7 separate regions of the Homo sapiens genome follow, and all the other regions are linked to region 7. Evidence: promoter capture Hi-C in 16 types of primary human blood cells and fetal thymus (Javierre and others, 2016). All regions are on one chromosome and are shown on one strand. The core of a region is centred on a gene start or on the middle of the fragment in contact, and the rest is flanking DNA. Distances in the headings are between cores, read along the strand shown.

What was found. The method cuts DNA at HindIII sites, captures the fragments that hold promoters and counts their contacts. A CHiCAGO score of 5 or more calls a contact.
Region 1: a contact is called between a fragment that was not itself captured here and the fragment with the promoter of SLC35A1 in region 7, in 1 of 17 cell types (fetal thymus). The highest score is 5.0, in fetal thymus.
Region 2: a fragment that was not itself captured here is called in contact with the fragment with the promoter of SLC35A1 in region 7 in 1 of 17 cell types (non-activated CD4 T cells); the score reaches 6.5 in non-activated CD4 T cells.
Region 3: a fragment that was not itself captured here is called in contact with the fragment with the promoter of SLC35A1 in region 7 in 2 of 17 cell types (total CD4 T cells and non-activated CD4 T cells); the score reaches 5.4 in total CD4 T cells.
Region 4: a fragment that was not itself captured here is called in contact with the fragment with the promoter of SLC35A1 in region 7 in 6 of 17 cell types (total B cells, activated CD4 T cells, erythroblasts and 3 more); the score reaches 8.9 in total B cells.
Region 5: a fragment that was not itself captured here is called in contact with the fragment with the promoter of SLC35A1 in region 7 in 3 of 17 cell types (naive B cells, naive CD8 T cells and total B cells); the score reaches 6.6 in naive B cells.
Region 6: a fragment that was not itself captured here is called in contact with the fragment with the promoter of SLC35A1 in region 7 in 6 of 17 cell types (total CD8 T cells, monocytes, erythroblasts and 3 more); the score reaches 9.9 in total CD8 T cells.

Annotation. Positions count from the first base shown.
Region 1 is chr6:88,775,633-88,778,596 of GRCh38, reverse strand. The region is part of intron 12 of RNGTT (RNA guanylyltransferase and 5'-phosphatase); the gene reads left to right. Among named protein-coding and RNA genes, the nearest start is that of RNGTT, 190 kb to the left of the region's middle. The HindIII fragment of the contact is 233 bases long and covers 1,524-1,756 here.
Region 2 is chr6:88,964,375-88,967,442 of GRCh38, reverse strand. No RefSeq gene overlaps it. Among named protein-coding and RNA genes, the nearest start is that of RNGTT, 2.3 kb to the right of the region's middle. The HindIII fragment of the contact is 1,429 bases long and covers 1,002-2,430 here.
Region 3 is chr6:88,890,619-88,893,694 of GRCh38, reverse strand. RNGTT (RNA guanylyltransferase and 5'-phosphatase) reads left to right here. Exons shown (of 16, transcript NM_003800.5): 7 at 1,780-1,889. Among named protein-coding and RNA genes, the nearest start is that of RNGTT, 71 kb to the left of the region's middle. The HindIII fragment of the contact is 4,119 bases long and covers 1-3,076 here.
Region 4 is chr6:88,855,428-88,858,803 of GRCh38, reverse strand. All of the region lies in intron 8 of RNGTT (RNA guanylyltransferase and 5'-phosphatase), which reads left to right. Among named protein-coding and RNA genes, the nearest start is that of RNGTT, 110 kb to the left of the region's middle. The HindIII fragment of the contact is 1,302 bases long and covers 957-2,258 here.
Region 5 is chr6:88,918,788-88,921,934 of GRCh38, reverse strand. All of the region lies in intron 4 of RNGTT (RNA guanylyltransferase and 5'-phosphatase), which reads left to right. Among named protein-coding and RNA genes, the nearest start is that of RNGTT, 43 kb to the left of the region's middle. The HindIII fragment of the contact is 1,920 bases long and covers 851-2,770 here.
Region 6 is chr6:88,873,054-88,875,946 of GRCh38, reverse strand. All of the region lies in intron 8 of RNGTT (RNA guanylyltransferase and 5'-phosphatase), which reads left to right. Among named protein-coding and RNA genes, the nearest start is that of RNGTT, 89 kb to the left of the region's middle. The HindIII fragment of the contact is 1,147 bases long and covers 878-2,024 here.
Region 7 is chr6:87,471,651-87,474,810 of GRCh38, reverse strand. It overlaps SLC35A1 (solute carrier family 35 member A1), which reads right to left and starts at 1,837. Exons shown (of 8, transcript NM_006416.5): 1 at 1,792-1,837. The coding sequence starts at 1,807. It overlaps LOC124901357 (a long non-coding RNA gene), which reads left to right and starts at 1,866. Exons shown (of 2, transcript XR_007059668.1): 1 at 1,866-2,038; 2 at 2,313-3,160. RefSeq lists enhancers at 969-1,068, 1,119-1,288, 1,284-2,190 and a silencer at 1,739-1,878. The HindIII fragment of the contact is 12,962 bases long and covers 1-3,160 here.

The DNA of each region.
Region 1 (2,964 bases), core at 391-2,890, 1.3 Mb before region 7:
ATTGCTTAAACTCAGGAGTTCAAGGCTGCAGTGCTGTGACTGCACCTGTGAATAGCCACTGCATTCTAGCTTGGGCAAGATAGCAAGACTCCATATCTAATTTTAAAAATTAAATTAAAAATTTGTTAGAATGCAATTTGACTTGGATAATTTAAAAATACTAGTATTGGACACTTAGCAATTTTTCCTTCCTAAGTATTTTTCTTATAATATGGCCCCACCCTCCATAATGCACACACTGAATTGGGAGACTTGCCTCTCCTTTAGCACATCCTATATTTCTCTACTCCTGTTTTTTTGCCCATATTTACTTCATGCTGCAAATCTGCATGAGTGAATATTACCCATCCTTCAAGGCTTACAATGTTCATTCCTCTATAATCAATTTTAAGACACTCAGGTAATACCTTTTCTTTTTTTACTTTGTACTCAGAATACATTTAAAATCCCCAAGTGAGATTTATCCCTGGGTTACAAGGTTGGTATAAACATATGCAGATCAATCAATATGATATACCACAGTAACAGAATAAAAGCTAAAACCACATGATCATCTCCACAGATTCATACAAAGCATTTGGCAAAGTTCAACATCTTTTGGGACAAAAACTTCCAATAAAATAGGTATAGAAGAAAATTTTCTCAACACAAAGGCCATTTATGAAAAGGCCACAGCTAGCATCACAATTAATGGGGAAGAACTAAAAGCTTTTCCTGTAAAATCCGGTACAAGGCAAGGATTCCCCATCTTGGTGCTTCTATTCAACATAATACTGGAGCTACTAGTAAGAGCAATCAGACAAGAAAAAGAAACAACAGGCATCTAAAATGGAAAACAAGTAGTAGAATTATCTCTGTTTGCAGATGACATGATCCTATATGTAGAAAAAGACTGTTACATCAAAAAAACCTGTTAATTCAATAAAGTTGTGGGATGCAAAGTTAACATACAGAAATCAGTTACATTTCTTTACACCAATCGATAACAGCCTATCTGAAAAGAGAATGAAGAAAACAATCTCATTTACAATAGCATCAAAAAGAATAAAATACCTAGGAATAAATTTAACCAAGATGGAAGAAATTGAAGATGATACACATAAATAGAAAGATATTCCATGTTAATGAATTGGAAGATTTACATTGTTAAGATGTCCATACTACCCAAAGTGATACACAGATTTGGTGCAATCCCTATCCAAATACCAATGACATTTTTTACAGAACTAGAGAAAAACAATTCTAAAATTTGTAGGGGACTAAAAACCCTGAAAAAGCCAAAGCAATTTTGAGAAAGAAGAACAAAGTTGGAAGCATCACACTTCCTGGTTTCAAGTTATATTACTAAGCTCCAGTAATTAAAATGGTGTAGTACTGAAATAGAAACATACACATAGACCAGTGGACCAGAATAGAGGGCCCAGAAATAAACCCAAGCATGTATGTTCAAATTTTTGACATGGGCACCAAGAATACACAATGGGGAGAAGATAATCTTTTCAGTAAATGATGTTGGGGAAGCTTGAATATCCATATACAAAAGAATGAAATTGGACCCTTATACCATACACAAAAATCCACTTAAAATAGATCAAATGCCTAACTGTAACACTTGAAACTGTAAAACTCCTAGAAGAAAACATAGTGGAAAAGCTCCTTGATGTTGGTCTTGGCAATGATCTTTTTGATGTTACATCAAAAGCTCAGCCAACAACAGCAATAATACACAACTGGGACTACATGAAACTAAAAAGCTTCTGCACAACAGGAAACAATCAACAAAATGAAAAGGCAGATTGGGAGAAAATATTTGCAAAGCACATATCTGATAAGGGGATATCTATAATATTAAAGGAATTCACAACTCAGTAGCAAAAAACAAAACAAAAACAAATAATCCAAGGACTTGAATAGACTTTTTTTTTTTTTTTTCCAAAGAAGCCATGAAAGTGGTCAACAGGTGGCTGGGCATGGTGGCTCATGCCTGTAATCTCAACACTTTGGGAGGCCAAGGTGGGTAGATCACCTGAGGTCAGGAGTTTGAGACCAGCCTGAACAACATGGAGAAACCCCATCTCTACTAAAAAAAAGAAGAAAAAAAAATGCAAAATTAGCTGGGCCTGCTGGCACATGCCTGTAATCTCAGCTACTTGGGAGGCTGAGGCAGGAGAATCACTTGAACCTGGGAGGCGGAGGTTGCGGTGAGCTGAGATTGCGCCACTGCACTCCAGCCTGGGCAACGAGAGGGAAACTCCGTCTCAAAAAAAAAAAAAAAGGTCAAAAGGTGTATGAAAAGGTGCTCAACATCACCAGTCACAGAGAAATGAAAATTAAAACGTCATTGAGATATTACCTCATGCATATTAAGATGGCTATTATCGAAAATACAAGATAACATACAAAATAGTTGGTGAAGGTGTGGAGAGTAAGGGTGTCCCACTGTTGGTAGGAATGTAAATTGGTACAACCATTATGGAAAACAGTATGGAGGCTCCTCAAACGATTAAAAACAAAACTAATATATGACTCAGCAGTTCCTCTGAGTATATACCAAAAGAAATGAAATTAGTACCTCATAGAGAAATGTATGCCCCCATGTTCATTACAGCATTATTTCCAACAGCCTGCATATGGAAACCACCTAAATGTCCTTCAGTGGGTCAATGAATTAAGAAATTATGGTATATTTATGCAACAGAATATTATTCAGGCTTAGAAAAAAAGATCCTGTCATTTATAACAACATGGATGGAGCTGGAGGGCATTGTACTAAGCAAGATCAGCCAGACACAGAAAGAGAAATGGTGTGTGATTTCACTTACATGTGGAATCTCAAAAAGTTGAGTACACAGAAACAGAATGCAAAAAACACCTATTATGAAGCTACTTGGTTAATAAGCTCTTTTAAATGGGGGAGAAACAAACCCAGTTGGTAACTCATTAATAACAACTTTTGATTATAGG
Region 2 (3,068 bases), core at 467-2,966, 1.5 Mb before region 7:
CTGTTTTTTACCAATAATCTTTAAGGCTGTTTTTATTTCTCAAAGATTAAAGTCACATGAACTGAAAGGTACCACATCTTTTACCTTCCCTTTAAAAAATATATGATCTAAGCACTTGTCTTCCTTTAGGCCAATTAGAGTTTTTTTTTTTTTTTTTTTTTTTTTTTGAGACAGAGTCTTGTTCTGTTGGCCAGGCTGGAGTGCAGTGGTACAATCTCAGCTCAATGCAACCTCTGCCTCCTGGGTTCAAGGGATTCTCCTGCCTCAGCCTCCCAAATAGCTGGGACTACAGGCACGTCACCACACCTGGCTAATTTTTGTATTTTTAGTAGAGACAGGGTTTCACCATGTTGGCCAAGCTGGTCTCAATCTCTTGACTCTCAAATGATCTGCCTGCCTTGGCCTCCCAAAGTGCTGGGATTACAGGCATGAGCCACCACACCTGGCCTTAGAGCTCCTTTTTTTTTTTTTTTTTTGAGATGGAGTTTTGCTCCTGCTGCCCACGCTGGAGTGCAATCTCCACCTCCCAGGTTTAAGTGATTCTCCTGCCTCAGCCTCCCAAGTAGCTGGGATTACAGGCATGTGCCACCATGCCTGGCTAATTCTGTATTTTTAGTAGAGATGGGGTTTCTCCAAGTTGGTCAGGCTGGTCTTGAACTCTCGACCTCAGGTGATCTGCCTGACTCAGCCTCCCAATGTGCTGGGATTACAGGTGTGAGCCACCGTGCCTGGCCTTTGAGCTCTTTTCATAGACATCATGTACACAACATATATATAGCTACACAGACAGGCAGAAGAAAACCAGTCCCCATAAGATCCTTTTTCACAACCAAACTTTAAGGAGAATATAAACAGGGATCCTTATCATTCCTAGCCTAGTGAAAAAGAAAAAAAACATCTGGTTTAAAAGTTAACTGTTGATGGGGTGAAGAAAAAAGGATGCCTGGGGGAATAAACCTTTTATTCTTAGGCAAATGGTTCCTCTACCAGGGAGAGAAGCTTATCAGATGGAGTTGAGCCTTGGCCAGGGAAGGGGAAGATGCTGTGGACATGTGGCATTCCCCAGCCCCAGCTGGGAGGGGAGAGGGAATGAGGAGCTGCGACTTGCCTATCCTTCCCAAAAAACGAAGGCAAAGGCCATGGAAAGGCCCCTGACCCCAGGGAGCGATGGGAGTGGGGGCATGGTTTCCCTACCCTCAGAAGTCCACGCATGAAAAGGCTTAGAAATGACAGTGAAAAGTTTTGAGTCCCCGTGTCACTCAACCGCTTCTCAAGCCCCACATTGGGTGCCAAAGCTGTTGTACGACTTTCTCCTTAGTTCAGCTAAGAGCTGGGTCCTGGTCACATGGCCATGAAATATTAGGCTCACAGATGCCTTGAAGGGTGAGAATGGAATTTATTGGGCAAAAAGAAAAAAAGGGAAACAGAGACTCTCCCCAAAGCCAGAGTGCTTCCTGCCTGGTAGACTGAATCCCAGGTTCCACCTAGGAAAAGGAGGGGCCAGGCTCCTCCCCACTGCAAATGGCGCAAATTTCCCAAGGCTCCACCACAGGGTGCATTCCTCCCAGTGCTCAGGTCAAAAGGAGATTCTGCCAAGGAATCCTTCCCACCTGGCTGTCTTACCAGCACTTTGGGAGGCTGAGGTGGGAGGGCTGCTTGCAGGAGTTCCAGACGAAAAAAGTATAAAAAAGTTAGTGGGGTGTGGGGGCCTGCACCTGTAGTCCCAGCTCCTTGGGGGCTGAGGTGAGAGGATTGCTTGAGCTTGGGAGGTTGAGGCTCCAGTAAGGCTGCCCTGATCATGCCCACTGCACTCTAGCCTGGGTGAGAAAGTGAGACCCTGTCTGCAAAAACAAAAGATTTATCTACATATCAAAGTGAAGAGGAAGGATTAATAAATATAGGTTTTTCTCAAGGAAAAGTCCTAGGAAAAGGGAAGACAGATAAGATCTCTCTCTTTTGCCAAAAGAGAACGTTCAATCTTATTTTTTACATGTACACACTCTTCCTTATGGGCAAAATGGATGTTTGATGAAAGACTCACCAATGAAGAGAATCTACATCTGATAAAGAGGAGATCAAGACATATCTGGGAGGGTGTCAGGGGTTCCAGGAAGCGGGGGAGGAATCATGTTGGTCTGTCTGTGAGCATCTATTTTTCTTCTCACAGAGTAGTAGAAACTTGGGACTAGGAGCAATATAGGCAGAAACACACATCAGGCAAGGCATTCCTGACAGGCAGAGAGAAACTGCCTGCTCATCGGGATGCCACTCTCCTACTCTACTCTCTATTGTGGACAAAAGGTAGCCACAGGGTCCTCCCAATTCTGTGGCAATGAGTATGGAGAGGGCATAACTGGATAGCAGAATAAAAATCCAGTGCACATTGCTGCCTTACAGCCAATAACAGTTGCTCGCCAGTGGTATGAAGCTTCTGTGTGCCTAGGACTGAGCTACTGGGTATAGCGTGTGTGGGAAGGGGAGTCACCAAGGGGAGTCATCCCCAGAAGGGGAAGGTAAGATACTCTTCCAGGATCAGGCTCACCTTTCCCATCCTTGGAGGGGGTCTGGGGATGGAAGGTTTTTACCACTTTGGGCATGGTACACACTCTATCAGCAGAAAAGGGAATTCATCGGAGATTATTTGGGTAGACTGATGGCCTTAAAGGAAACTGGGTATTATCTTGTTCTGTCAGGGGAGGAGTTTACACCTTCACTAACAGTTCTGAGCAGATGCAACAGCAGGACAGACCAGAAGTGTGACCTAACTCAGGCTGCCTCAGAGAGATTGCTGTTGGACTGCCTCTATTGATGGGACTCTTACTGAGGGGGTCCAGGCATTCAGGGGGTTGAGCGTCCCAGAAAGTTCCCCACCGACGCTTTAAAAATGTATTCCCTGCAGCCTTACGTTCTTGCAGTTCCAATATAGCATTGGTGTTTAAAGCCAAACTACATTATAATTGATTCGCCATCATCCAGCTTTATATTTAACACTTTAATCTGGTAACAAAGGAAAGGCTCGTTAAAGGACGGCATTTATAAAAATTTTTCAAGCACCTCTGCTTAACTCG
Region 3 (3,076 bases), core at 363-2,862, 1.4 Mb before region 7:
TTTACTAGGTGATTGGGGTTAACTTTTATAACCAGACTCAGTAGTTGTTAGATCTGTACTGATGCTCAGTATTTATTGGCTCTGTTAAATTAAAAATATTCAGCTTTTTCAACCCCATAGAAATGTTATTAAAATATTTCTGTGGTAATATTGTGGGAAAGTGCTTGGTTGAATGTGATCATATTTTCTATGTGTTAGTCCTTTTTATTATATGTTAAAAATATAAATAGTGTTTGTGTTTTTAGTAGTAACTTAGGTTAATTTGGCCTTTGCTTTTATTTTGCCCATTTCAGAAGTTAATGTAAATTTCTTAACTTTGCATAGGAAATCCACGTTGATAAATGAAGCTAGAGACTTTCTTTGTGTAAAACTTAAAAAGAACATCTCATGCTGTTAATACCATCAGAATTAGGATGCTTAATATTGAACTCTCTAAAAAGAAGTGTTCTTTTTTAATTAGCATAAGAAACAATTTTTTAAGGATATTGAAATTATCTGAGCACTCAATAAGTAAATATGTTACAAACCTCATCTATCTGGTTGAGCTTTCTTTTAAAAATACTCTTTTTTTCCTTTAGCTGTTGTACTTAATGATAAAAATGGTTTTAAACAGAAATGCCATTGGCTAGTACAGAGAAATAATGGTATAATAGTAGAGGGATGGTACTCTTTGATCCTTGGGCTTATGAAATTCCTAAATTTTGGTTATTTAAGGAAAGCAAAGTAGAAGACAGATAAGTACAAAAAGTGCTTCAAAATTAGGGACAAAAAGTAGGACTAGTGTCTGCTGGAAGGACTCAGGATTCTTCCAGATTTGACAAGAATGTATGTGGATGAAGTATTAATTGTTCTTTTTTTCTTTTCTCAAGTGGCTCAGATTGCCAGGTCTTTGCCAGAAGGTTGAACGTTGTAGCTTGTAGACTAACTTTTTTATTGCCTAATTACATTAACAGCTAGAATTGTTTTATAGATTTTTCTTAAGACTGATGCCAGTCCCTTTATGGACCTTAAAAGAACTGTAGCATACATCTAGACTATTTTTTTTAGGTTTAAAAATTTCCAGAAGGGTTCCTTATTTGTTTGATATTCTCTGTCTGCTTTACTTCGCTGTGATATTTCAAAATATGTAGTTCTGAGTTAAAAAATTTAGATTAAAAATTCCATGATGAGTAATATTTTGTTCTATTAGTATGTTAATATATCCAATGACTGTGGCTTAGCCACTTTGCCTACACTCTTACTCTGGTTTACAAAGATAGAGGTTTTGGTGTTTATCCCCTTAAAGTCCATACTTCATTCATAGTAACACAGCTCCTTTCCCCTTCTCTCCATTGGTGGTTGGTATAGTGTAGGCCTGTTCAAATTCTGTCTTTTACCACTTGATTTACATAAAATCTTTGTGCCTTATTTACTCATCTTTGAAATAAATACAGTACAGTCTATTTTTTCAGTGTTGTAAGGATTAGAGAGAATGTTTGCAAGATGCCAGACATTCTGCTTGGATCTCAATAAATGGTAGATAAATTATTATTACTGTTATGATTTGAGAAGTGCCTATAGAGTACATACGTATATTGAAGAAAACCATGTGCTGGATTTAGGAAAACTAGTGTACAATCTTAGGGGAGTTTATACAGCAGACCGTTTCTGTTAGATATATTGACTTGCTAAGATTTGTGAGAACAAACTAATTTATCTCTCAGTCTCTTCTTTGTAAATGAATTTGAACTCTAATAAAATATTTTTCTTTCCCTTATTTTTCTTATTTTTTTTTTAAAGGGCGCTATTTTCTTGGAAGGTGTTACTGTTAAAGGTGTAACTCAAGTAACAACACAACCAAAGTTAGGAGAGGTACAGCAGAAGTGTCATCAATTCTGTGGCTGGGAAGGGTAATAAATATTTTTAAATTTTTAAATAAAATTTGCTCTTATTTTACAACACTTAATACAAGCATTGACATATCTTCTTGGCTCCTTGAAGTTAGTATGTTTGCAATAGAATACTTTAAAGGTGTCAGATTTCGTTCAAGACAATCAATGCAATAACCAGACAGTTGAGTCAAAATTAGATGACTCACATATTTTCCTAAAGTAATAGAAAATTCTTGTTTTCACTGTCTAGTATTTGTTTCGTGTCTTTGACTCTACTGCTACTGATTAATGTTTGAGCTAGTCTCTCAATTTGATAAGAGGGAAGAGGTGAAATTTGGATCTGCCTCATTTTCCAGTTTTTCTGTAATCAGAAGTCTAGGAAAATCAGCTTTAAATATAAGCAGTGAATGCCATGACTTGAAAATATCTTTCAGACATTTCGTAGTGGATTCAGGAGAGCATACATTGCTCTTATCTGTTGCTCTCAGGTCTTGGCCTGTGGTCATTTCTGCTGATCATTGGTATCTGTGGCAGAGAACTGTAATACAGTTGAATGTAAGGAAAAAGGATTATTGTTAATTCCTAATATAAATTCCTAATGAAAAGAACTTTTATTACTGTTACATAAATACTAGATAAATCATCTAGAAGTAGTTTTAACTAAAATATGAAAACAATGAAGAAATAAGATCGGTTTTAATGTTGTGTTAAACCTTAATCTTGACCTACACCCTTGGTTTTAATGTTGTGTTAAGCCTTAATCTTGACCCATATTTCTCCTGTTTTGTCACTTCTGGGTATCTTTTGAGGAGAAAGTTGCCAACCTTGCAGTTATGTCAAGTTGGCAGTCTCACGTTGGGGAAATATGGGGTCTAGAATATCATGTAAAGTAATTAAGCCAAGATTTAAACTTCTTCCTGAAGTACAAGACTTGTAAACATACCTGCTTTACTATTTAGATCATATATACTAATATTTTAAAATTAGCTCAGTGATTATACCATAGCAGTGGTAATTTAGAACTCTGTTAACTTGCATTCTAAAATGTCAAGAAAATGATAATCTTTTATTAGTATTTTTGTGAAAGCGGATGTTATTCCAGCTGACATTAATCTCATCATAGGGAGAACATTGTGATAAATGTGTGATTCATTTGAGATTGGTTTAAGACATGTATTGCTTTGTATGGATACCAGCCACGATAG
Region 4 (3,376 bases), core at 358-2,857, 1.4 Mb before region 7:
CTCACATTACAACCTGTGCTGGGTTGACTCCTACATATTGAATGTGAGGGTTAGTATACTGTAGAGGGTGTACAAACAAACTATTGTCTAAATTTTAATATCAGCGTTGCCGTTGTGTCAGCGTTATGACATTGGGCAATGTCTCAGTTTCCTCATCTGGAAAATGGGGATAATAATTTTACTGACCTGGTGAGGTTGTTGTAAGGATTAAATGAGTTAATAAATGAGTTAATAAAAGTGCTCTTTTCTTCAGAACATAGTAATTGCTCAGTAAGTGTAACCTGTTGTTATTATCAGCTATGCATGAATTCCTCTGGAATGCCTTCCATGATCTCCAAACTCTGACAGGCTCTACCTTTGTAGGCTCCTGTAATAGCTTCTTCTTCACTGTTCTAATATGTATTATGGTTGGAATTATTTAATATCTTGTTTTCTTTTTAAGAGTGTAAATGATGTGAAGTTGAGAAGAGAGTCTGTGCCATTTGCTGTTATAACCCTAGCATCTAGTACTGCCTAGCATCTAGACTGGCTCCAGGTCGGCCCTTTAACTTATATTTTAAAAAATAATTGATTAAAAAATTTAAGAGAAAAGCCATAATAAGTTTGATAGGGGCTAGGAAAAATGGATAGAGATAGAGATGGTGGTGAAATAAATCAATGTAAATGATCAGCTTTTCTGTTTTTATTGCCCATCAAAATGCTCTAGTATGGAGGCTGTATGACAGAAGAAGAGGAATATCTGTTGTTTTGAAGCCACTGTGGTACAAAGAACAAGGGTTAGAATCCTGTCTTAATTCATTGCCACTTTGCAAAGGGAAAATGTTTCTCTGGGTCTGATTATAGACTACATTTCTGGCTTGGTGGCTTTTTTCCCCCTTGTAAAGCTTTAATTTTGCCCCCTGTGTCTAAAAGCAATTTGTGTTTATTTCTAAAAATTTTGAAAGTACAGAAAAGCTTAATGAGGAAAGCAAATATCATTGATAATTCTAATACATAGAGATGGGGCAGCTCTTACTATTTTGGTATAGGCTTTACTCTATATTTACGATATACATACAGTTTTGTCCTCCTCCTTTCCTCTGTAATTATTTAATGTATTCTGGTTTTAAACTTGCTTTTTTCCCACTAAATATATTGTAAATCTCTTTCCATATTAATGAATATTTTTATCATTGTTTAAAAAATGCTTGACTAGTATGCTTTTACATGAATATGCAATATTTATTTTACCTATTTGCTGAATGATGGACATTTGAGTTTTTATCCTTTCACTGTTATAAAATATTATGATGAACTTTGTTGTACATACAGCTTTGCTTAACAAATATTGAGTGCCTTCCTTTAGTGTGTATTCAGGTAGACTGTGCAAGATACTTAAGCTGTGAGAAGGAACAAAATAGATAGGATTTCTGCCTTCATAGAGTATAAGATAAATTCCTGAATTGATGATCAGAGTTGGGTCTAAATTGGTGATAACTTTAAATTACCAGGAGTTTAACGACCATTTTACTCTCAGACTACTGGGAGGAATGTGAATTAGGACTCTAAGGTGGTATTAGTTACCATTGTTTTCTGTCAGTTTTCCTTCTCTTTAATTATGTACTTCCTAATTTTATTAATGTATATTTGGTTGTTTTACTTAATTATATATCTCACATCTCAGCAACTGCTCTGAAAGATTATTTCCAGTTTTGGTAGAAAACCTGCATTTACAGTAAAGTAGTCTATACATCTGGCTTTTCTGTAATCCATATACCTTTGGTTTATATACTTTAGCATTTTCTATCTGGGAAACGTATACTGAATTAAATTTTGCCTTTTAATGGGAATGAATGAATATAATACAAATACCTATTGATAATTCTGAATATTAAATTTGCAGTTGAGATAATTTCCTAATTAATAAGAAATTATATTGCATCATAGTTATATACTAAGGCAGTATCTGACAGTTTGTGAGGTAGTTGCTTCTTTTTAAAGAATCTGGCTGCTTTCAGGGACTTTGGAGTGATGTGGAAATATTTCCACATTCCTTACATGAAATAGCTCCTTACTTTTTGTTAGTATCGCATAACAAAAGAACATATGATTTGGAATGACTGGAGTTCAAACTAAAAATCATAGCTCAGGAACTTGTGTTCCAAAGCCTGAAAATTTATGTGTGCAGAAGAATCCCTAAATACCAAGTGCTAAATAATTTCTCTGGTGTTTCTGCAGATGCAGAAGCTATCCTTTTGTAAATCCCGTCCTCTAAAGCTTTTTCTTCCTTAGTCTTTTAAATCTGTTTATACACATGTGTGCATAGAAAATATTTTCTTTTGATTGATACTCTACTTGATTTAAAAGAAAAGGTCTGATACTAAGATGTGTGTGTGTGTGTGTGTGTAAAATAAATACATCTTCACCCTGGGATAATACCTATTGTGTTTAAACATTAAATTTAAAATTCTCAACTTCTGGGCAGTCAGTGAAAGGGGAAATATAATTTCAGTTATCATTATTACATGATCATAAGAGTAAACCATTTCTTTTTTCTGAATTCTAACATTTATTAGCTTAAGTCAGCTTTTCTCAAATTGTAAGTATAGAATACCAATTCTGTCAAATTTTAACAGATATCAGGATTAAGTTTAGGAAACAATGGACTAAATAAGATGAACAGATTTATTTATATATTTTATCATAACTTTAAATATCCTAATATATATCTTGACGTTCTAAGAGAAAGATACAGTGGTTTCCTAACTTATTTGCCTTGAAATACCCTTTTGGTGAATATCAGCTTTGCAAAATGCCAGCCTAAGTCCTTAACAACATGATGGGTTGTGTGTCTTCCATGCCATTTTTGCAGATGATGTCATCATTGCTTTTTATTTGATCTTCCCTTTTGTTGATTTAAATTCCTTTTGAAACATAATCCAAGGCAAAGCTTACTTCTTCCAAGTAGCTTAGATTCTCTCTATCCACCAGGAATTGCTGCTTTTGAAAAGCATGTGCCAGAGGGTCTTGCGAACTAAGTATTCCTGTTGTCTGTGTGCCAGCTGGCCTGGCATTTGGTCTAGGAGTCTTTCAGATACACAGTCAGTCCAGACTGAGGCTGAATTTATTTTTCCTAGTGAAACCTGAGTCCCCACACTCCCCATCTACTAGGGCTGCAGCTATTATAGCAAGGGCCTGAGCTCTCCATCTGCTCCCCAGACACCTGCTGGAACTAATTATCATTATTATTAAAACTTTAAAAAAATTTTTTTCTATTATGTTGCCTTTTTTCCTTTCCTTTTTCTTTTTTCACTTTTTTTTTTTTTGGAACTGATTATTTTGGAAACAGCAAAGAACAACATACTTCACAATCTAATCCAAAAACATAAGCCCCTTT
Region 5 (3,147 bases), core at 561-3,060, 1.4 Mb before region 7:
TTGCATATGACCTATGAACATCCTGCCGTTTTCTTTGAATCACCTCTAGGTATTACTTATAATACCTAATACAATGTAAGTTCTATGTGAACAGTTACTATATTGTATTTTTAAATTTGTATTATTTTTTACTGTATTTTTTATTGAGTTTTTTCCCAAATATTTTTAATACAGATATAGGAAGGCCAATTTACTCCAAAAATATTATTAAGGGTGGAGGATGAAAAAAAATCAGCAAAATGATAATTACCAAAGAGGGATGATGGATACATGAGGTTTCATTTTTCTATTCTCACTGCTTTGGGTATGTCTGCAAATTTCCATAATAAAAAAAAAATTTGAGAGTACTGCCCCAGAGAAGCTAACAGTATGGTAAAAATTGAAAACATCTGGTTCTAAGGGTTTCAGATAAGGGACTATGAAGCTGTAGTTACTGCTAAGGATTAGAAAAGGTTTCAAGCTTCTGTGTGTTTCAAGAACTTTATATTTCCATGAAGCCTACAGCATTAGCCCACAGCCTCACCAATTATCAACTGATAACTGAATCAGTTGTCAACTGTAATTGATAAATTAACAATTATATCAGCTAATTCAAAGATTACTTTTTTTTTTTTTAAAGACCAGGTCTCACTATGTCACCCAGGCTGGGATTTTTTTTTAAAACCAAGACAGCTTTGAAAAGAAACCTGAGTCTAACCTTTGCCACATCACAAATGTTTACTACTGGTCACAAATATTGATCAGCAAGAGTTTGTGCAAGGCTGATAAAAATTCCTTCTCTGAAACTAAAAATAAATGAAAGTACTATAAAAGCAGGACAGTATTTTCAGATCCTAAGACTACTTAAGCTTGATTCTTTAGTGCTTTTTATTTAGAAAGGTGTTATCAGCAATCAGTTCTGAGACTAGTTTCTGTTATTGTCTCTACAGTAATACTATAAGAAATAACTGGCAATACATCCTGTGCTCCAAAATTTGGCAGGCCCAAAGCAAATGTTTCCAATTCAATCCACATGAACAGAATCACTGCCGGGAATATAAAACAAAATATATATATATCACTAGGTTCTATAAATTTTATAACCTGTAAACACTCAAAACAATTAGAAGTTTTTCTTATCAGTTCTTCTAAGAATACAACTGCACAATTTATAACAAGGATGAATTTGTTTTCCTAAACCTGGAGTATGAATCTTTCTAAAATCATGACATCTAATGCCAGAGGTTAAAATTGCTTGACTGCCCTCCTTTGAATTCATTAAGCATATTTAATGTTTACCCCTATAATGGCTTCTCTCAAATGAGAAAACACTTCTGTGAGTTGTTTTTACTTATTCAGATAAAGGCCTCAGTATTACCTTAAGCTGTGTAGGTTCTAGTCATATACCTCAATATATGTGTATGTATGTGTGACTGTTATATATATTCATATAAATGTATGAATATATATACACACATCCTTAACATATTTCATGTATATCTCATAATATTGTTCTGTTAAATAATAGCTGCATACTGTACCATATAAATAACCTGCTTTTTTCAAAACAACAAATACAGTATAGTAACTGTTCACATAGCACTTACATTGCATTAGGTATTATAAGTAATACCTAGAGGTGATTCAAAGAAAACGGCAGGATGTTCATAGGTCATATGCAAATACTATGCCATTTTATACAAGGCACTTGAGCACTGAGCATCGGAGGATTTTGGTATCTGAGGGGGATCCCAGAACCAATCCCCTGAGGAGTCTGAGGAACAACTGCATTAATTTTTTTTGCCTTTATTGTATTATATTAAATAATTTTTTAGAGACCAGGTCTGGCTATGTTGTTCAGGCTGGACTTCAACTTCATCCCACAAATTGTAACAATTAAAATTGTCTCTAGACATTACAAAATGTCCCCTGGGGGGCAAAATCTTCCCCAGTTGAGAACTACTGAATCCTCGGTGCAGTGGCTCACGCCTGTAATCCCAACACTTTGGGAGGCCGAGGCGGGTGGATCACCTGAGGTCAGAGTTTGAGACCAGCCTGACCACCATGGTGAAACCCTGTCTCTACTAAAAATACAAAATTAGCCAGGCGTGGTGGCGCATGCCTGTAATCCCAGGTACTCAGGAGGCTGAGGTAGAGGTTGTAGTGAGCCGAGATTGCTCCATTGCACTCCAGCCTGGGCAAAAAGAACAAAACTCCGTCTCAAAAAAAAAAAAAAAAAAAAAAAAAAGAACTACTGACCTAATTAGACTGATCAAATAATTAGGATTTTTAGCATTAAAAAATTTATCTAGCTAGTGAGATAGAAATAAAATTGTGGGCCAGGTGTGGTGGCTCATGCCTACAATCCCAGAAGACCAAGGCCAAGGATCTCTTGAGCCCAGGAGTTCAAGACCAGCCTTGGCAACATAGAGAGACCCTGTCTATACCCCCCACACCCTCCAAAATAGTGTATGTTGAGATCAGGCTTTATTTAAAAAGATACATTGTCACCAGCCCCTTTATAAACTGCCCCAACATGTATAGCTATAGCTAATCTCTCTGTCTATTTGTTGGGGAGTTTCTTTCCCTAGTTTGATTGTAAATGCCATATACATTTATTTCATTATATTAGCTTGCCTGGAAAAATTTGAATAGAAGTTGCCTTGAAATAGTTAATTGTGAGCTAATATTTAGTTAAAAACTGTGGCTTACTTACCACTAGATGGACCCATTCTCATGATGAAGAAAACTGAAAATTGCTTTAAACAAAAACTGAAGACGTATCTAAGCTTGTAGTATACCTAATTAATGGATTTTTTAATATCAAATACATAATCTCCCACATTTTTCTATAGTGGTTTGTTTTGATGGTTTTGTAACTTTATAACCCTATCTATAAATGTTTTGATGTATAACTGAACCATTAGACTAAGACTTTTTGTATTTGCATATAAAGAATATTAAAAGGAAAATGGTACTTTCCTAGATTACATATCTTCACATGACATATTAGCTAATTGGCAATTATTATTACATTTCCTATTCATAAAAATATTTAATCTTGCAAGAGTAAAAATTGGATACAAAAACAGTAGCTTAGGTGAGAAACATCGAAAGTTGAAATATTTGTTGCTTGAATTGGTCTGAAATAGAAGATAGTAAGGAAAT
Region 6 (2,893 bases), core at 202-2,701, 1.4 Mb before region 7:
ATCCTTGGCAATTTGGGGTAGTTTCACTTAATATAAGTAATGTAGCCAAGTTGACAATTGGAAAATGAATTTTTTTCTTAAAAGATTTTATTGATGTAAAAATTAAAGGAAAATGAATTTTAAAATTGCTTTGATTAGCAGTTTTTTTTGAATACTAGTGTGGTTGCACAAGTTCATTCTGTATTTTGGCTATAGCAACAGTTATAACAAGTAATACTTGTTGAACACTTAATGTGTATTAGGCATTGTTCTGAGTACTTTACATAGAACATTTATCTCATTTAATACTCACAACGCTGTAAGATAGCATTGTGAATAAGTAGCTTTTTCAAGGTCACAGACACAGTTATTGTAAGTAGCAGGACTGAGATTTGAATGCAAGTGATCTGGCCCCAGAGCCCAGAATCCTTTTTGCCAGGTCATGTCCTCATTATTTTTTCAATATTTTGATAGTTATTTTTACTGTTTTATGCTAATAGATGAATTTTTCTGTCTTAAAATATATTTTTTCTGATAATGTCTTCTGTCTTCCTCATAAAACATTAAAAAGAAATTAAAAAGTTCTCCCTGTGAGAACTTTTATCCCACCCCTTGGGATAATCAATATTAAGAGTTGGATGTTTGGTTTCTCGAGACATTATACCTTCATCTTCTTACCTGCTGTTTTCTTTCCTTACTTTCTGATCCTCCATATAATGGGATATGATATAGGCTGTTCTCTTATAAATAAATAATAGAAAAACTCTATTATTTTTTTTTCAAATTGCTTTGTGATGGTAATTCAAATTGCATTGCTCCTTTCACTTAATGGGATAATAAATATATTTGCAGACAATATTTACTGCTTTAATAGATAACTGTTAAGCTACTGTAAGCTTTAGAAGGTCTCAAAGACAATACAAGACACTAGAGGAAAGTAAAAGTACAATTCCTACTCTCAGCAGGAAAATGAAGTACAATTTAAGATGTAGTAAGAGATATAACAAAACTATGTATAGTACCAGACAACTAAGTAAGAGATACTAAAGAGCTAATAAAGAGCATTACTTGATACTGTATATGAAATATGACTGCTTGTTTTGATTTTAAGAGTGTGATATTGGGTGTTCATAGATGGATTTTTAAATTTTATATAGGAAATAAGTAAGATATATTTAGTATTGAATATTGATATTTAGTATTGAGTAGTGCTGCTGACCAGATGGAAGAACATTTGCTTTGACCCATCTCAGCAGTAGAGCTTATCTGTTAGATGAGGTGTTAACTGGATTTTCATATTTTTTTTTTTTACGATTCTGTGATACTTTCTTAACTCATTATTTGCTCACATACTCTTATTCATTATGTGTGATTATGGAAGTGGCAAATGCTGGCTTGGATAAAAAAGGGGAAAAAACTTTATCCTCTTTGTGAATCTGTGAAAAATTGTTTGAAATAATTATAGTTGATTTTTCTAGAATGCATGCTTTATACAAAAGAAAACTGAAAGTAATCAGCGAGTCAGGGACAAATGTAAAATAAAACTTTTGGGAAAATTCTTTTGATCTTTTCTTTTCATGAAGATGGATTACTTTATAAAAATTAAAATGTTGTTTACATGCCTCTGTGATAGGTAGTGCTGCCCAGAATACGTTAAGTGGCTTTTAAATTTTATTCCATATCAAGGTAAATCTTTAGAGCAATAAATGTGGCATACCCTGATGGAAGATCACTTAAAAGAATGCTGTATTTTACATATTTAACTTGTATTGCTACAGAGTTCTGAAAAGCATAACCTGTTACATAAATGGTAATTAATGCAAATGAGTATATCATTTGATTTTACACTTTGAAGTCTAATGAAGACACTGTACATTCTCATTATGAGAGCTACTTAATCTGAAAGTAACTAATTAAAATAACCAAGAGAGGCTTCTTATATACAGAACTGGTTGATTCATGAGATTTATTTACTAGTATTGGAACCAATTACCTGATCTGTGCTACGAATAATAAGTTTGCAGTGTCCTGTTATTTTGCAAGCTTTTCAAATTCTCTTAATTAGGTCAAGATCAATGAGTATGTCTATATCTTACTAAACCTATCTTATTATTAATGGTAGTAGTTGAAACTTTTTCTAACTTGGACTTGATAAGCATTTTAGTAAAAATTTCTTTTTTGCCTTGTGATTCTGGTCTTATAATGAAAAAATGATAATGTCTTAAAAATGTGTTTCCCCATTATAAAAGTCATTTGTATTCATTGTAGAAAAGTTAGAAAATGAAGATAAGGAACAGGACAAACACGAAAAACATATGTAATTTCACCAGTTAGAGATGGTTGCTGCTTACATTTTGGTGTGTATGCTTTTAGACTTTTCCCTCTGTCTATATATATTTTTTGTTTCATTGACTAAATGAAAAACATATTCATTCCACAATTTTTTAAGTGTCTGTTATGTGCCAAGTACCAGGTTCTCTTATTTTCTTCCTTTCTTTTTGTTGAATTACTTATTCTGGTAATTATGCTTTTGTCAATAGTACATACATTCTTGTTCTCTGCCTGTACCTTTTCATGACAAATTGTTCTTGGTTTATGGTTGTGATAGCTTCTTGAATCTCTATGAGAATACTAGTTAAAAGCATATTTAAAGTTATCTTTCTCTTCCTTGAATCATCTTTCTTCTTTATGTTTCTAGTTTCTTCAAATGTGTGGTGATCCTTGGTTGGCTGTGCATTTGAAACGAGGCAGAGAAGCTGCTTGGAAGCTCCATGAATGTGGGCTGGGTTTGTCAATTTCTGACCTTTGCTTTATGATAAGCAGTTGTGCTTAGGTGCTCTTCCCTCACTACCCATTTGGTTCAGTTTCTTTTACTTTCTTTCTTTTTTTTTTCTGTTCACCCTCCCACCCTGTT
Region 7 (3,160 bases), core at 588-3,087:
TAAGTGGAAGGGTAATCAAATAAGTTTAGGTATGTGCAAAACAGATTGGGCTTTGACATGGAATACCAGTTTTTAAACGTATTTCAACTTTTAAATACTAAATGTTTTTAAGTACGATTTTCTCTGGCAGTTTAACATCAGACCAAACTATTTCTTGTTCACTCCATTCACAAATTCTCCAGTATAAAACTTCAGTTATTAGCAATTTCAATTATTTCAGGGTAACAGCAAAAGTCCATATGTAATCACTTCAAATTGGGCAAATAATTCAAATCACACCCAATGCCAGTAACTATAAAGCTAGCCCACAACTCAACTGGCAGCCACATCTTAACCCTGCATTGTTCCCTGCTTCTCACGAAATTCTATTAGCTCCCATATAGTGTTTGTGTGGAAATGTCCCCCAAAAGAAACTTACAGTTTAAAATGTTTTTTTTCGGTTATGTTTTACTATAGTTTATGGGGACATTATTTGTAATACTTAAGAACTTAGAAATTCTGTAAGTCCCAGATAAATCCTTTGTGGATATTCGGAAACTATGGAAACTGTAGTTTTGTTAGGATTACAATCAAGGCTCAACAAATATGTATTGGCAATAAGCCTAAACCTTTACATTGTTGCAGCTATTTCAAGTAATGATTTGACTTCTGTAATTTATAAGTTTTCGTTCGGATCAATTTTGCTATCCCCATTCCATTTTAGTTATCAAAACAATTCTATTTCTTTTTCTTTTATTTCCTGTGTTGCTACAAAAAAAGGCTTTTAAGATTGGACTTATTTGAAATGAAACAGAAAGAAGACATAAGAGAAGCATATGCAACTAAAGACAATGCCCCTGGGCAGGGCCTGATGAGAAACATGGACCCCGCAACAGGGAAAATAACTTGAAACCCACGCAAGAAGATATTCCTTATGTATTCGTTCAATATTTATTCAAGGGTGAAGCCAAGTGCTCTATGGAGGAAGGGTGGAGCAAGAATCCGGGTGTTGCCCAACTTCTCCTGGTTAATGCACCACAGTCAAAGAATCCACCTCTGGTCCCAACTTACACACACTGCTCAGCAAAAAGTGGTGCGGAGTCAATTAGACTCGCCCTCCTTAAATGTCAATTAGTCAACAAATACGCCTTCACCCGAATGTGCCATCCCTCAGGAGGAGGGAGGTGGATCTCAGCTTCCACCCCAAATAGCAGCATACAGCATTCTCTATAATTACACACAGCATACAGGTGGGAACTGTTAACGACTGTTATCTTCCTTTCGTTACGATTTCAGTGCTGTTTTGACGCCCCAGTGATGTCTTTAGTGGTTGTTGCATGGCCCAGCCGCCGCATGGGATCTGCGCCCGGAGCCTGCCTTTAAGCCTCTGAGCATCCACAGGGTAGGAGGCGCAGAGGAGACCGGAGCCGCGGGGCCAGGGTGAAGAACTGTCCTGCCTCGCTGGGTAATGCGGTCCAGCCCCGGACCCACGCCCTGGCCTCTCTCCGGGTCCGCCGCAGCCCCGGCCTGTCAGAATTCGGTTCCCACCCACTCCCAGCTAGTGGAGGTCAGTGCGGTCTCTGACTCCGACCTGCCCAGCGCGGAGTCAGCCGCGGAGACTGCAGCCGCAGCGGAAGGCAGGCTGCCCTGACTGCCGGGAGCGGCTCCACGCAAACTCCTGACGCCTCAGCCAGGCCCCAGAGGCACTGGGCAACCAGGGTGCTCCGCTGCCCGACAGGGGCTGACCAGCGCAGATGCTCGCCCGCCGCCGCCCCCCGCGGACTCCCCACTCCCAGCAGACCCAGTTCTCACCTCTCGGGGCAGCCATGGTTCCCCGACAGCCCCCCGCGGAACTGACGCCCGCCCCCTCCGCGCCCCCGCGCAGGACACCGGGGACCGCCCCTTGTGGTCATAGAGACGAAGCCGCTCGGCCTAGAGCGCCTCGCCGGCCTCCCGGTCGGCCACGCACTAAAACTGGGCTCAGGAATCCAAGCTACACCCCAAAATGGGGAGAACGCGGATCGAAGGGAGGCCTTCCCGGCCGCGTCCTAGGTGACAGGTGTGTGAAATTCGGTTGGGGAGGTAGTTCTGTAAACTGCGTCTCCCCGCCAGCTAAGGAAGTTGAGTGAAGGGAGCGTTGCCGTCTGGGAATCGTAGTCCTCACAAAGGCGTGAGTAGGCGGCAAATAAGGATTTGGGTTTAGCCTTGGGGATTCACTCCTGTCAAAGCTGTTAGAGAAGCTCCCAGAACTCGTAAAGTAACAGAAACTACTTGCGGCAACATTTGTAACTTCCACCTGGCTCATTATCTTCCACTGTTACCTTGTGTTCTAGATAAGTTATAATTTATTCTACATATCGTTCAGAAGTCTTGTGCCTGTTCCATATCGTCAGCAGTCATCGGTTGTATTTACCCAGCCAGGCATTCTAACTAATGATCTTCGCACAACAAAACGGCCTTTAAAAAATCAGATGTATCGGCCGGGCGTGGTGGCTCACGCCTGTAATCCCAGCACTTTGGGAAGTCGAGGCAGATGGATCACCTAAGGTCAGGAGTTCGAGACCAGCCTGGCCAATATGGCGAAACCCCGTCTTTACTAAAAATACAAAAAATTAGCCGGGCGTGGTGGCGCGCACCGGTAATCCCAGCTACTCAGGAGGCCGAAGCGGGAGAATCACTTGAACCCGGGAGATTGCAGTGAGCCGAGATTGCGCCCCTGCACTCCAGCCTGGGCGACACAGCGAGACTTCGTCTCAAAAAACAAAAAAAATTAGATATATCAACAGGCATTTTAACCACTATAATCTCCACTTTCACTAGGGGATGTTAATTAGCTATCATAATTGATATTAGAAATAATTCATTGGTGAAATAAATGATGTTCAAGATATGTGGATTGGTTTAAAATAATATGAAAATACCTCAGCACTTACAGGAATAGGGATGCAAGATTCTGAGCTGCCCAGCAGCCCACACCTTCTGCAGCATGTTCTTTCCCCAAAATTGTCCTTTTAGAGGGTTGGTTGTATACCATTGTCTTGTTAAATATACATATAGATATATCTGGTCTGTTAACATTGTTGGAACATTTTGCATGCCTTATTAGCATCATATTAATATTGGGAGGGGCTCCCAGGAGACCAGAGTTGACTTTGTAGAGGCAGACATTTGATTAATCTCA